Linked DNA regions of Homo sapiens: region 1 is linked to region 2. Evidence: promoter capture Hi-C in human tissues and cell types (Jung and others, 2019). All regions are on one chromosome and are shown on one strand. The core of a region is centred on a gene start or on the middle of the fragment in contact, and the rest is flanking DNA. Distances in the headings are between cores, read along the strand shown. Region 1 overlaps TSPEAR (thrombospondin type laminin G domain and EAR repeats). Region 2 holds the start of KRTAP10-5 (keratin associated protein 10-5).

What was found. Contacts are between HindIII fragments. The study calls those that stand out against the background at their distance.
Region 1: a contact is called between a fragment that was not itself captured here and the fragment with the promoter of KRTAP10-5 in region 2, in 3 of the 25 tissues and cell types used here (IMR-90 fibroblasts, lymphoblastoid cells and mesenchymal stem cells).

Annotation. Positions count from the first base shown.
Region 1 is chr21:44,618,945-44,625,493 of GRCh38, reverse strand. The region is part of intron 1 of TSPEAR (thrombospondin type laminin G domain and EAR repeats); the gene reads left to right. Among named protein-coding and RNA genes, the nearest start is that of KRTAP10-9, 4.9 kb to the left of the region's middle. The HindIII fragment of the contact is 3,363 bases long and covers 2,000-5,362 here.
Region 2 is chr21:44,579,248-44,585,423 of GRCh38, reverse strand. KRTAP10-5 (keratin associated protein 10-5) reads left to right here and starts at 4,820. Exons shown (of 1, transcript NM_198694.3): 1 at 4,820-5,969. The coding sequence starts at 4,846. The coding sequence ends at 5,661. All of the region lies in intron 1 of TSPEAR (thrombospondin type laminin G domain and EAR repeats), which reads left to right. RefSeq lists enhancers at 4,496-5,085, 5,086-5,676. The HindIII fragment of the contact is 3,934 bases long and covers 2,406-6,176 here.

The DNA.
Region 1 (6,549 bases), core at 2,432-4,931, 41 kb before region 2:
CTTCAATCATAGATAATTCAAGTCCCATTATCAATATTTCTTTTTGTAAAAAAAAATTTTTTTTGTAGAGACCAGAGTCTTGCTATGTTGCCCAGCTGGTCTTGAACTCCTGGGCTCAAGTGATCCTCCTGCCTTGGCCTCCCAAATTGCTGGGACTACAGGCGTAAGCCACCGTGCGTGGCCCATCATCAGTATTTCTGTGCCAAGTCTCCTAACTTTTCATGCTCATTTTCTTTGCTGTGCTCAGCTCCCATTCTTCAAAGGTAAGCTTCATGTGGGCAGGAAGTGTGGTTGTCTTGTTCACCACTCAGTCTCTGAGGGCCTAAAATAATGCCTGGAATAGGGAAGATCCTTCATAAAAATGGGCTGAAATAATAAATGTTTTTGGAGAAATTATCGAAGAGTAATTTTGACCTCTGAAAACGATTCCATTATGCTACCTTTTTCTTATGCTGTATAAAACTCTCTGTCAAGTTCTGCTTTTGTGTGTGGGGAATTGGCTGACATCAGACTGGCCATCTAGCTGAGAAAAGTTAGGAAACCTGGTTTAACAAACAAAATCTCTATTTGAGGGCACCAGGAGTCACCAAGACAGCTGAGACTTGAGTGAGTGAATCCCTATTAGAGGGAAAGTGCACAGAAGTGAGTCTAATATTTCTTCTGGATTTTCTTATTGAGGCATTTACTGATTCACAGACTACAGCCATGAGGCTGAGGCTGAGCACAGCTTTTAGTAGTCTCATACAATTGGAAGACAAAAACATAGAGTTCAGGACCTGACAAGGAGGAGGGATTCTGGTAAAACAACAACAACAACAGACTGTCAGTTGGAAACAGTGAATATAAGTGAAGGATTACGCCCTAGGATGAAGGAAAAAACGGAAAGAAGAATGAAGCCCACCTTTAAATCAGCTCGTATTGAACTCATATGATCTGCCTGTAGCCTAAGTGCCTCCCAGAAACAAAAGTGATCTCTTCTGGAGACAGCAGCATCAACAGAGGCTCAAATCATCTTGGAAATTTTCATGAAGTCCTGGATTCAGTCAAAAATTACTAGGGCTACTAGAAGACAAACCAACTGACCAAAGGACCAAGAGGAAAAAGCAAACAAGAGAAACAGATACACAGGACCTTTAGATATTAGAATTGTCAAACTGGAATTTAAAATAATGCTGATTAGCTTGCTCAAAAAACCAGAGGACAAATGGAGAATTTCAGTGTCAAACTAGATTTATGAAATGGAATCAAACAGAAATTCTGGAAATGAACATAATAGCTGAAATTAAGAACTAAGTAGATTAGCTAGACAACATATTAGACAAAACCAAAGAGAAGATTAGTGAAGAAAGGGAGATGAGGAAATTCAGCCCTGAGTACAGAGATGGGAAAGAAAAGAGGGAAATGAAGAAAGTGGAGTAGTAAGCATGCCCTTATGTTGTAAATAATTATGAATATAAATGGTTGAAATCATAGGAGGAGATGAGTAAAATAAGGGTAGTAAAATATTTGAAGGTTTAATAGACAAGAAGTTTAAAGTGATGAAAAACATTAACCCATAGATGCAAAAAGCATTTAAGAATGTTTAGCAAGGTGAATACAAAGGAAACCATGCCTGTGCATATTGGGGCTGAAATCCAAAGACAGAGAAAAATTTAAAAACAGCCAAGGGAAAAAAAAAGAAATATTACCTTTAAAGAAGCAACAATAGCATTTACAGATGACTTCTCAGTAGAAATGATGGCAGCCAGAGGATGATGGAATGATATATTTACTGTCTGAAAGAAAAGAAGCACCAAGCTAGAATTCTACACCTGGGAAGAAGATCCTCAAAAATGAGGACAGGAAAATGATGTTCTCTGGATGCTGAGAGGTTGTGTCACCAGTAGGATCTGCACTACAGAAAATAAAAAGATAATTAGGCAGAATGAAAATGATCACAGATGGAAGCAAGAAGTCGAAAAGGAAATGAAGTGTAACAAAAGGAGGACAACATGGGGAAATCTAAATGAATATTTACTGTATAAGATGTCTTAGAAGTTGTAAAATATTTATAGAAATGAAATACATGGCAAGAAGATCACAAAATTCAGGAGGGGGCTACATGAAGTTAAAGCAGTCTTAGTACACTATACTATCTGGGAAATAATATAAGATCTAATTTACATTAGACTTTAAAAAGTCATAGATTCATGTTGTAATCTCCACTAGAGTAATGAAAGAATATACAACTCAGGAGGAAGTAGATGAGTGTAGTGGGTTGAATCTTGCCTCCCCAAAAGTCATATCCACCCAGAACCTCACTGTGTTAAGCTGGTCTCGCATTGCTATAAAGAAATATTTGAGACTGGGTAATTTATAAGACGAAAGTTTAGTTGGCTCATGGTTCTGCAGGTTGTACAGGAAACATGGCGCTGGCATCTGCTCAGCTTCTGGGGAGGCCTCAGGGGGCTTTGCTCATGGTGGAAGGTGAAGGGGGAGTGGGCATGTCACATGGCAAAAGAGTAGCAAGAGAAAGAGAGTGGGGGATGGGAGGTGCTACACGCTTAACCAGATCTTGCCAGAACTCCCTCACTATCACAAGGACAGCACTACTAAGTCATGAGAGATCCGCTCCCATGAGTCAAATAGCTCCCCCAAGGCCCCACCTCCAACAGTGGAGATCACATTTCAACATGAGATTTGGCAGGGCCATACAACCAAACCATGTCACTCACAATGTGACCTTACATAGAAATAGGGTCTTTGTAGATGAAATTAGTTAAAATGAGGTCATACCGGGTTATAGTGAACCTTAAATCCAATGACTAATGTCTTTATCAGAGAAAGGAGAAGGAAGTTCAAACACACACACAAAGGGAAGACGGCGTATGACAGCCAAGGCAAAGATTGTCATGAGGCAGCTATAAGCCAAGGGACGCCAAGGTTTGCTGGGAGCACCAGAAACTAGAAGCAGCAAGGACAGAGTCTCCCTTGGAGCTAAGAGAAAGCATGGCCCTGTGGATATCTTCATTTCAGGTGCCTGGCCCTAAGAACTGCGAGATAATAAATTTCCACTCTTATAAGTCACTTTTTTGGTGACATTTGATGTGGCAGCCCAAGGAACTAATACAGTGAGGGGAAGATGGGGGCATAAAAAATCTCAAAACACTAGATCCAAAAGCAGTAAAGCAAGGAGATAAAAGGGAGTAGATTCCTTGCGTAAGCAAAAACCAAAATGAGATGGGAGGTTTAAGCTCAAACGTATCAGCAAAGCCCCACATTCTTGCCAGTCCTGCACAGCAGATGTGTTGTTACTTTAGTCAACACAGCTATACAGAGAGAGTCCTTTGGGGTTTAAGTTTGTATTGCCCTGATGACTCATGATGTGGAGCATGTTTTCATGTATTTATTTGCCATCTGTACCTGCTCTTTAGGGAAGGGTCTATTTAAGTCTTATGTTATATGGCAAAATACTAAGCACCATGGGGTTCCATGCATATAACATTTTGGAAAAGGTAATTGTAAAGGGACCAAAAAAAATGTCAGTGGCTGCCAGGGACTAGGATGGGGATGTGGAATGACTACAAATGGCCATGAGGGAAATGTATGGGATGATGAGAGGAGTCTATGTATTGATTGCGTTGGTGGAGACACAACTGTCTATATTTGTCAAGACACCGAATCCACACAAAAGGAACAAAAATACAAATATCCCATATTGATTAAATAACTTGAATCTAACATCAAAAGCTTTCCTACAGAGCCAACTACAGACCCAAATACTTTCCCTGCTGAATATTCTCAAACAACTGGGAGAGAAATAATACCAGTCTTAAATTTATCAGCTTGTTTTATTAGGCTGCCATAATTTTCCAGACCTTAGGAAGTGGGGCCTGAAGTATTGGCTTCTAGTGAGAGCAACTGAGGAATGATATGTGCTGCCCAGGGGGCCACGTGGATGTTACCTGGGGACATGATGGCCCTACTGGGGAGGGGCCAGCCATAGGCCAGGAAAGGAGCCTGATGAGGAAGCCACTGTCATACAGAAGCTGGAGCAGACTGATCGGCGGGGGCTGGGCCCACAGGACATTATGTAGTGATTAATGTCCATCCATCAATAAGATATATCAATTATAAATATATACATGTTTATCATCAGATCACCAATGTATATGAAACAAAAATGGACAGATTTGAAGAAAGAAATAGACAGTTCCAGTTCTACAGTAAGAGTTTGAGACTTCAATAAGCCATTCTCTCTAATTTAAAAAAGTATAAAATAACAGAACTAAATTTTTATTCAATAAGGAAATAGAGGACTTGAAAAATGACATAAATCTACTGGGTCTAACAGATATGTGCAAAAACACACAACCCAACTACAGCAGAAAACTCACTCTCCTCAAGTTCACATGGGACATTCTTCAGATTAGATTTTACCTTAGGCCACAAAACTAGCCTCAATAATCTAAATTGATTTGAATCATACAGAGTATCTTCTCTGATTACAATGGAAGGAAACTAGAAATCAGTAACAAAAGAAAAGCTGGAATTCACAAATATGTGTAACCTAATAGCACACTTTCAAACAACCAATTGGTCAAAGGAGAATTCAAAGAGAAGATAGAAAACTCTTGGAAAGGAATGAGAAAGAAATCACAGTAACCCAAAACTTAACGAGATGCAATGAAGGCAGTACATAGAGGGAAATTGATAGCTAGGAATGCTTACATAAAAAAATAGAAACATCTCAAATCATTAATTTAACTTTACACCTTAAGGAACTAGAAAAAGAGCAAAGTGAATCCAAATTTAGCAGAAGGTAGAAAATAAAGACTAGAGTGCAGATAAATGGAATAGAAATTTTAAAAATCAATCGAATCAAGGAACAAAAAAGTTGGTTCTTTGAGAAGAGCAACAGATTTGACAAACCTCTGTCTAGACTGATTAAAGGAAGACAGATTCAAATAACTAAAATCGTAAATGAAAATGGGAACATCACTACTGACCTTACGTTAATAAAAATAATTATAAAGGAATACTATGAATATTTGTACCCAACAAATTAGATAACCAAGATGTAATGGAAAAACTCCTATAAACATACAAACTACCAACATGGCTACCTTTGCTGTTGACCTTTCTTCATTCATATTGCTTTAGCTTACTATCGACTGCCTTTGTATTTCAGCCTGAAATAGCATTTCTTGTAAGGGACATCTTTCAGCAACGAGCTCTCAGGTTTTATTTACCTCAAAATGTGTTACTTCTTCACTTTTGAAGGATCACTTTGCCAGATGAAGACGTCTTTTTGGTTGTTGGGTGCTCCCCACCCCTGTGCCCAAACCCAGCATGTTAAATATGTCATCCCAACGCGTTCTGGCCTCCATGGTTTCTGATGAGAAATCCGCTGTTAGTCTTCCGTCCCACTGCTTTTTACATTCTCTCTTTGTTTTGACTTTTGAGAGTTTGATTATACTGTGTTTTTATGTGAATCCCTCTGAGTTAGATTGATGTGTTTCCTCAATTCTGGAAGTTTGGGCCATTATTTCTTCAACTATTTTTTCTGCTCCCACTGTCTCCCCTCCAACTGGAAATCCTGCTAAGTGTGTTGGTATGCTTGATGGTGTCCCACAGGTCTTTTCAGATTTGTTTATTTTTCTTCATTCTCTCATCTGCTCCTCATTTTCTCATCTACTCCTCAGACAAGAATACTTCAATGGATCTATCTTCTTGTTCACTAATTCTTATAGCTGCTAAAATCTGCTGTTGAAACCATATCATGAGTTATTTATTTCAGTGACTGTACTTTCCAATTCCAGAACTTCTATTTAATTTCTTTTTAAATTTCCTCCTATCTCTTTATTGATATTCTCTATTTGGTGAGGTATCATTCTCCTGGTTTATCTTAATTCATTGTCTGTGATTGTATTTAGTTTTTTAAACATGTTTAAGAGAGTTGATTGAAAGGCTTTGTCTAATAAGTCCAATTCTGGGCTTCCTCAGGAAGATTTTCCATTAATTGCTTTTCCTCCTCATGAGTAGCTTATATTTCTTGCTGCTTTGCATGGCACATGCCTCTGGTGAAAACTGCACAGTGACAATTACAAAGGGATATTTCTGGGTATCAGGCTCTCCTCCCTCTGCGCAGTTTGCTGTTGCTGATTGTTGTGGATTGTGGTTGTTTTTGTTTGTTTCTGTCAGTTTTTAAAAATAGTTTCTTCACCATGTGTGCTCACTGTTCTATTAGCTTAGTGCTGAGATAGTAATTTGACAGAGAGTTCCTTAAACCCCTGGAATCAAAAACTTATTTTTCTTCAGGGTTTGTAGCTGGGCTCTGTATGTTGGTCCACGCCTTCAGCACTCGGCTGGGGAGTTTGTGACTCTGCCTTCCCCTTCACTTCCTGCTTGCACCTTCACTTCCTGCTTGCACCTTCACTTCCTGCTTGCTCAGAGCCTGAGGTTCAGCCAGAGGTGAGCAATGAGAGCTTCTCAGCTCTTTTCTGAGCCAGTGCCCCATCATAGACATGCACGGGGGCTTTCTGGACTCTAAAAATATGTGGAACCTTC
Region 2 (6,176 bases), core at 3,571-6,070:
AAGAAGATGGGACCGAGGGGATGAACACAGCTGATGACAGTGACTAGGGAGGGGTCTGGTGAAATGAATGAAGTACAAGGAGAGAATAGTGCCAGGTTCTGGAAAGAGGAAAAGCTTCACAAGAAGATTAAAGTTATGCAAATCTGAGACACACTGGTGGCCCAACCTCTACTAAGGTGGAGGGAAGAAATTCTGCACCTAGACTCTGCTGTGGCAGGTGTCAGCAGGAGGGCTGTTCTTAAACAACAGGGATCCAGAAAGTTTACCACCCATGACGCTTTCTGAAACTTTTACTCAACAATCTCTAACAAGAAGGAGCACGACCCCCTCTTTTCAAATGTCCACAAAAATCCGCAGATGCTCATCAAGGAAAATCTAAAGAAAATAAAAATACAGTCTAATAAAAATAAGCAGACATTAAAGATTGAAAAAGAAACATGCCCACAGATTGAGAGATTTTTGTTTTTATGTAAAAGAAAGTAGCATGGGTATGTTTATCCTAAAATTTGAAAATATAAATGAATGGACTGTGTTCTAAAAAATATAAATTACCAACACTGAATAACAAAATGAAACTTTTAATACAATGATGTCCAGGAAAATATGGAAATGGTATTGAAAGATATTCTTCAGAAGGCAGACTCAGATGTTTTAAAGGTGTATATCATCAGCCTTCAATATAAGACCTTCCTGTGATACTTGAAATATTCCAGAGCTCAGAAGAAGACAGAGATCTTCTGGATTCCTCTAATATAAGACTGGTGAGACCCTGATGCCAAAACCAGGAATAATTGTGTGTGAGAGAGAGAGAGAGGGAGAGAGGACTGTAAATCAATCCCATTTAAAAAGATAAAGCAAGAGATTCTATGTGCCTATGTTAAAGAAAAACTAAGCTGTTACATGCAGCCATTATGGAAGACAGTGTCAAAGCTCCTCAGCAAATTAAAAATAGAACTACCATGTGATGAGCAATCTTGTATATACAAGACAAATTAAAGCCAGATCTCAAAGAGATACCTGCACTGCCATGCTAACTGCAGCACTAGTCACAACAGCCAAGATATGGAAGCAACATAAGTGCCCATCAGCAGATGAGTGGATAAAGAAAATGTGGTGTATACACACGATGGAATACGATTCAGCCATAGAAAGGAGGGAGATCCTGTCATTAGTGGCAACATGGATGAACCTGCACACACTATGCTAGGTGAAGTGACCCAGGCCACAGAAAGACAAATACTGCAGACCTCGCTTATATGTGGAATCTAAAAAAGCCAAGCTCGGCAAAGCAGAGAGTAGAGTGGGGGTTCACAGGGGCGGGGGTGCAGGGAGTTTTCATTTTTTATAACTCTTTAAATATCCTTTCAGCGATTATTAATACAGGTGTGCAAGAACTGTGTGCTTTATCCACTTTGATGTTGATGACAGGATACAGCTTCAGCTGTGCAGGATGAGTCAGTTCTGGAAACCTCATGTGCAGCACGGGGACAGTTGACTGTAACACAGAATGTGACGCAGTAACACTGAAATTTGCTAAGAGAGTCCACCTTAAATGTCTCATCACAAAATAAAGGTAACTGCATGGGTGATGGACATATTAATTAGCTTGACCGTGGTAATCATCACACAATGTGTACATGTATCAAGACATCCTGAATTTATATAATTCTTATTTGTCAATTACATCTCAATAAAGCTGGGGAAAAAGGGATAATGAGCCATTATCAAGTAATGTATATCTTAGATCACTCAAGTTACAAAGGGTATCATTAACTATACTCATAAAATAGAAGTAGAAAAGCCACTGGAACACTCAGTAGATTAATACACACACATTCACACACACACATACATGAACAAACTCACTCCTTCTTTAAAAGCCTGAGGCAAAATTCTTGGTAAACTAGAGTGAAAAAACACTGCATGCACGAGACCAAGGCTTTGCGACAAACCAGCCAACACCGGCTTAGTGCGGAGCTGCAGGAGGTGCTTCTGTTAACTTTGGAAACAAGACCAGAGGGCTGCTGTCATCGCGTCTCCAGAGTTGTGCTGGGCAGCCAGCCACGATGAAAGGGAGTCAAATAAAACAAAAGACTACATTTTGGAAAAGAAGAATCCAAACGTGTGTCACTTGCAGAAGACACGGCCGTGGGCCACCCTGCCCTCCAGACTCACATCCCCTCCCAGCACCTCCCTCCCCCAGCCAGGGCTGTTTAATCCCTGCAGCTCAGCTCACTCAGATCCCCAGAGTGTCTGCTTGATTTAAGAAATGATGTGATCTGGCCGGGTGCAGTGGCTCACATCTGTAATGCCTGCACTTTTGGGAGACTGAAACGGATGGATCACTTGAGGCCATAAGTTCGAGACCAGCCTGGCCAAAATGTCCAAACCCCATCTCTACTAAAAATACAAAAAAAAAAAGAAAGAAAGAAAAATAGCTGGATGTGGTGGTGCACACCTGTAATCCCAGCTACTCGGGAGGCTGAGGGAGGAGAATCGCTTGAACCCGGGAGGTGGGGCCTGCAGCACCACTGCACTCCAGCCTGGGTGACAGAGTGAGACTGTGTGTCAAAAAAGAAAAGAAAGAAAGAAGGAAGAAAAGAAAGAAAGAGAAAGAAAGAGAGAAAGAAAGAAATTGGTGTGATCATTCAATTGTCCGTGGAAACTGCCATGGTGGCCCCCAGTGAAAATTTCCATGATCCAAAAAGACACGTCTCCACTGAGCGCAGGGCGTGGACTTAGATCAGGCACACTGAGACCCTGGAGCTGTTGTGGGCACAGCAATGACTGTGGAAAGACACTTTGGACAGTGATGGGTGGTCCAGACACCAGGAGAAGGGAGCGACAGAGGGCGTGGATCACAAATAGGAATAAAGAGACAAGGAATCACCACACCCATTCGATTAAGGAGGCTGCCAGAGATAGCGATGGGAAAACTAAAGCAAATTATCATACAGGCCCCAGGGCTTGTCCCAGAAGCCATGTCAGCCTTACCACATCCCGCTGGCTCAGGACCACCTGCCTCCCTGCCTGCCACTCAGGAAGCACGCACTCTTCTGGGAGCTGTGTGACAGAACGGAGCCATGTATGGCCGTGAGGGAAAGGAGTGAGAGCTCGCGGTTGTCAGGTTCACTGCCGGCCAGCTGTCCTCTTTCAAGGTTACTTATCTTCTCTCATCATTTCTGCAACTGTCAAAATGGGCTGCAGAGTCACCCCTCACGCGGTGGCTGATGTGGAGACCGCACCTGCGCCGTGCATGTCTGTAGCACACCCGCTGATATGACGTCATCCTAGCCTTCCTGGCTTTCCTGTCATTTCCTGAAAGGAGCATCGAGTCCTTCAGTCCCAGAAAGTGGGTTAAGCACACAGTTCTCGCACAACCTCTACTAATAATCACTGAAAGGATATTCAAAGAGTTATAAAAAATAAAATCAAAATTGTCTAACAAAAAGGGAGGCTCTTTAAAATCCTTTATATATTTGTAGAAAAGAGAAACAGATGGAAACAAATTAGAATGTAAACTGGATCAGGACCCCAATGCCCTGGAATAAAATAGTCTTTTACTCAGAAAATCAAATGAACTGCCACCAATGAGCAGAGCTTAACTGATGTCCAGTGAAACGAGGGGAAAAACGTTTAAATGCTCAACATAACATCATTACAGTGAGCCAAAAATGTATTTCATTCATCGTGAGACAAAATTAAAGTCACAAAAGGAAAGACCTTGAGAGATGAGTTATTTTTAAGAGCGCAAAACACTTCCTGAGTCTCCACATTGAAAGGCTCAATGAATTCTAACCACAGAAAGTAAAATAATGCACACGCATAGAAACAAAAGAAGAATAAAAAGAAAACCAAATGTTCCCAGAGAGTTAAACGGAGAGAGAGAGACAAACTATAAAAAATGACAAATGACCAACCTCAGTCTCTCATCAGCAACGCTGGACACTACAGAAAAATGGTGACACAGGTTCATCATTTTGAGAAAACAGATTTTTTGTTATTATTTATAATAATAATTCTGACTTAAAACCAGAATTATATACCCAGCTAAACTATCATATAAGTGTGAGGGTAAAGTTGAGTACATTTTTAGGCAAGAAAGAAATCTTAAAATGTATGTCCTAAAATCACCATATGTGAAAAAGTACTTGATCTGTCACCATGAGGAAATAAAAATGGAGAAAACCCAGAGCGCAGCTTCAAATAAAACAGAGAGAGGGCTCTGAGGGTGGCATGGAAGAGCTGAAGAGACAAGGATAAAGCACAGATCCACCAGATACCAAATCTCTGAGCATTCCCCTTACGAGGCACAAGGGGTTGAAGAGAGGGCCACTTAGCTTCATCGTACCCTCTGTGCCAGCTGCATTTTATAAGAAATGCATATTTTTCTACCTATTTATATTTTAATATGCTAAAAGTAATAAAATATATCCAATCAGTCCAAACACAGGATAGGTGAAACTAGAATTCCTCCCTTTAGAGAAGTCTTCATCTCTAAAACCTCTACTCAACAAAAGTTTGCTTGAAATATTTTCCACCACATTTCTGGGGCTAAAATAAGAACCGATGAAGAAACACGGCCCTGCAACATACACACAAGTTTAATGAGGGAAAAACAAACAGATAAACCAGCATGAATGACGCATCTCCAGCCACCAGCTCTAAACACCAACAAGGAAGAGAAGCTTGTGGAGCCTCCTGTCGGGACAACACACGCCAGGGAGGGATTTAAAAGCCCCACAGCCCTGAGCACCTCACTCACTCACTCCCTCCTTCACTCACTCACACACTCACTCACTCACACCTCCCCCAGCTCCCAGCTCACGTCTTCCCCACCCCAGCATGGCCGCGTGCACCATGTCCGTCTGCTCCAGCGCTTGCTCTGACTCCTGGCGAGTGGACGACTGCCCAGAGAGCTGCTGTGAGCCCCCCTGCGGCACCGCCCCCTGCCTGACCCTGGTCTGCACCCCAGTGAGCTGTGTGTCCAGCCCCTGCTGCCAGGCGGCCTGTGAGCCCAGCCCCTGCCAATCAGGCTGCACCAGCTCCTGCACGCCCTCGTGCTGCCAGCCGGCTTGCTGCGCCTCCTCCCCCTGCCAGCAGGCCTGCTGCGTGCCCGTCTGCTGCAAGCCTGTGTGCTGCCTGCCCACCTGCTCTAAGGATTCCTCTTCATGCTGCCAGCAGTCTAGCTGCCAGCCAACTTGCTGTGCCTCTTCCTCCTGCCAGCAGTCCTGCTGTGTGCCTGTCTGCTGCAAGCCCGTGTGCTGTGTGCCCACCTGTTCTGAGGATTCCTCTTCATGCTGCCAGCATTCTAGCTGCCAGCCGACTTGCTGCACCTCCTCCCCCTGCCAGCAGTCCTGCTACGTGCCTGTCTGTTGCAAGCCTGTCTGCTGCAAACCCATCTGCTGTGTGCCCGTCTGCTCTGGGGCTTCCACTTCATGCTGCCAGCAGTCTAGCTGTCAGCCGGCTTGCTGCACCACCTCCTGCTGCAGACCCTCCTCCTCCGTGTCCCTCCTCTGCCGCCCCATATGCAGGCCCGCCTGCTGCCTGCCCATCTCCTCCTGCTGTGCCCCTGCCTCCTCCTACCAGGCCAGCTGCTGCCGCCCGGCCTCCTGCGTGTCCCTCCTCTGCCGCCCCGCGTGCTCCCCCCTGGCCTGCTGAGGCCTCTGCTCAGGCCAGGAGTCCAGTTGCTGATGTGCACATCCCCCAGGGCCAACTGGTCCTGACTCGGGTTAGGAGGTTGCCCCCGCTTGGGACGGGGCCCCCATGTGCTGAGGTGACCCCCCCCTCCATACTCCCAGGAATCTCCATCCTCGAAGCTCCCCAGCTCCTGCCTCCCAGCAGGGGCCCACCTGCCTGTTGGGTCCCCTGTCCTCCCTCCCAGCTTCTCTGCCCCATGTCACTTGGCCTCGACTTGAACCTGTCAGCACCTCCTCCTGCTCCCCAATAAACTCCCCTTGGTCGCCTGATTCTCTTTTTCTGTAGTGCTCCTGGGGATACATGGTTTTGAGCTCAGATTGGTCTCTAGCCATGACTGTTTCTATGAATGAGTGACTTAACCTAGAAGTCACGGGGGACAGTGGCCTAACTCCTCCAGGGGGTCACCAGGTGGAACTCACAGCCACGCCCAGGAAGGCTCAGTCCCGGCTCAGCCTCCATGCCTGGGTCTTCCTGAG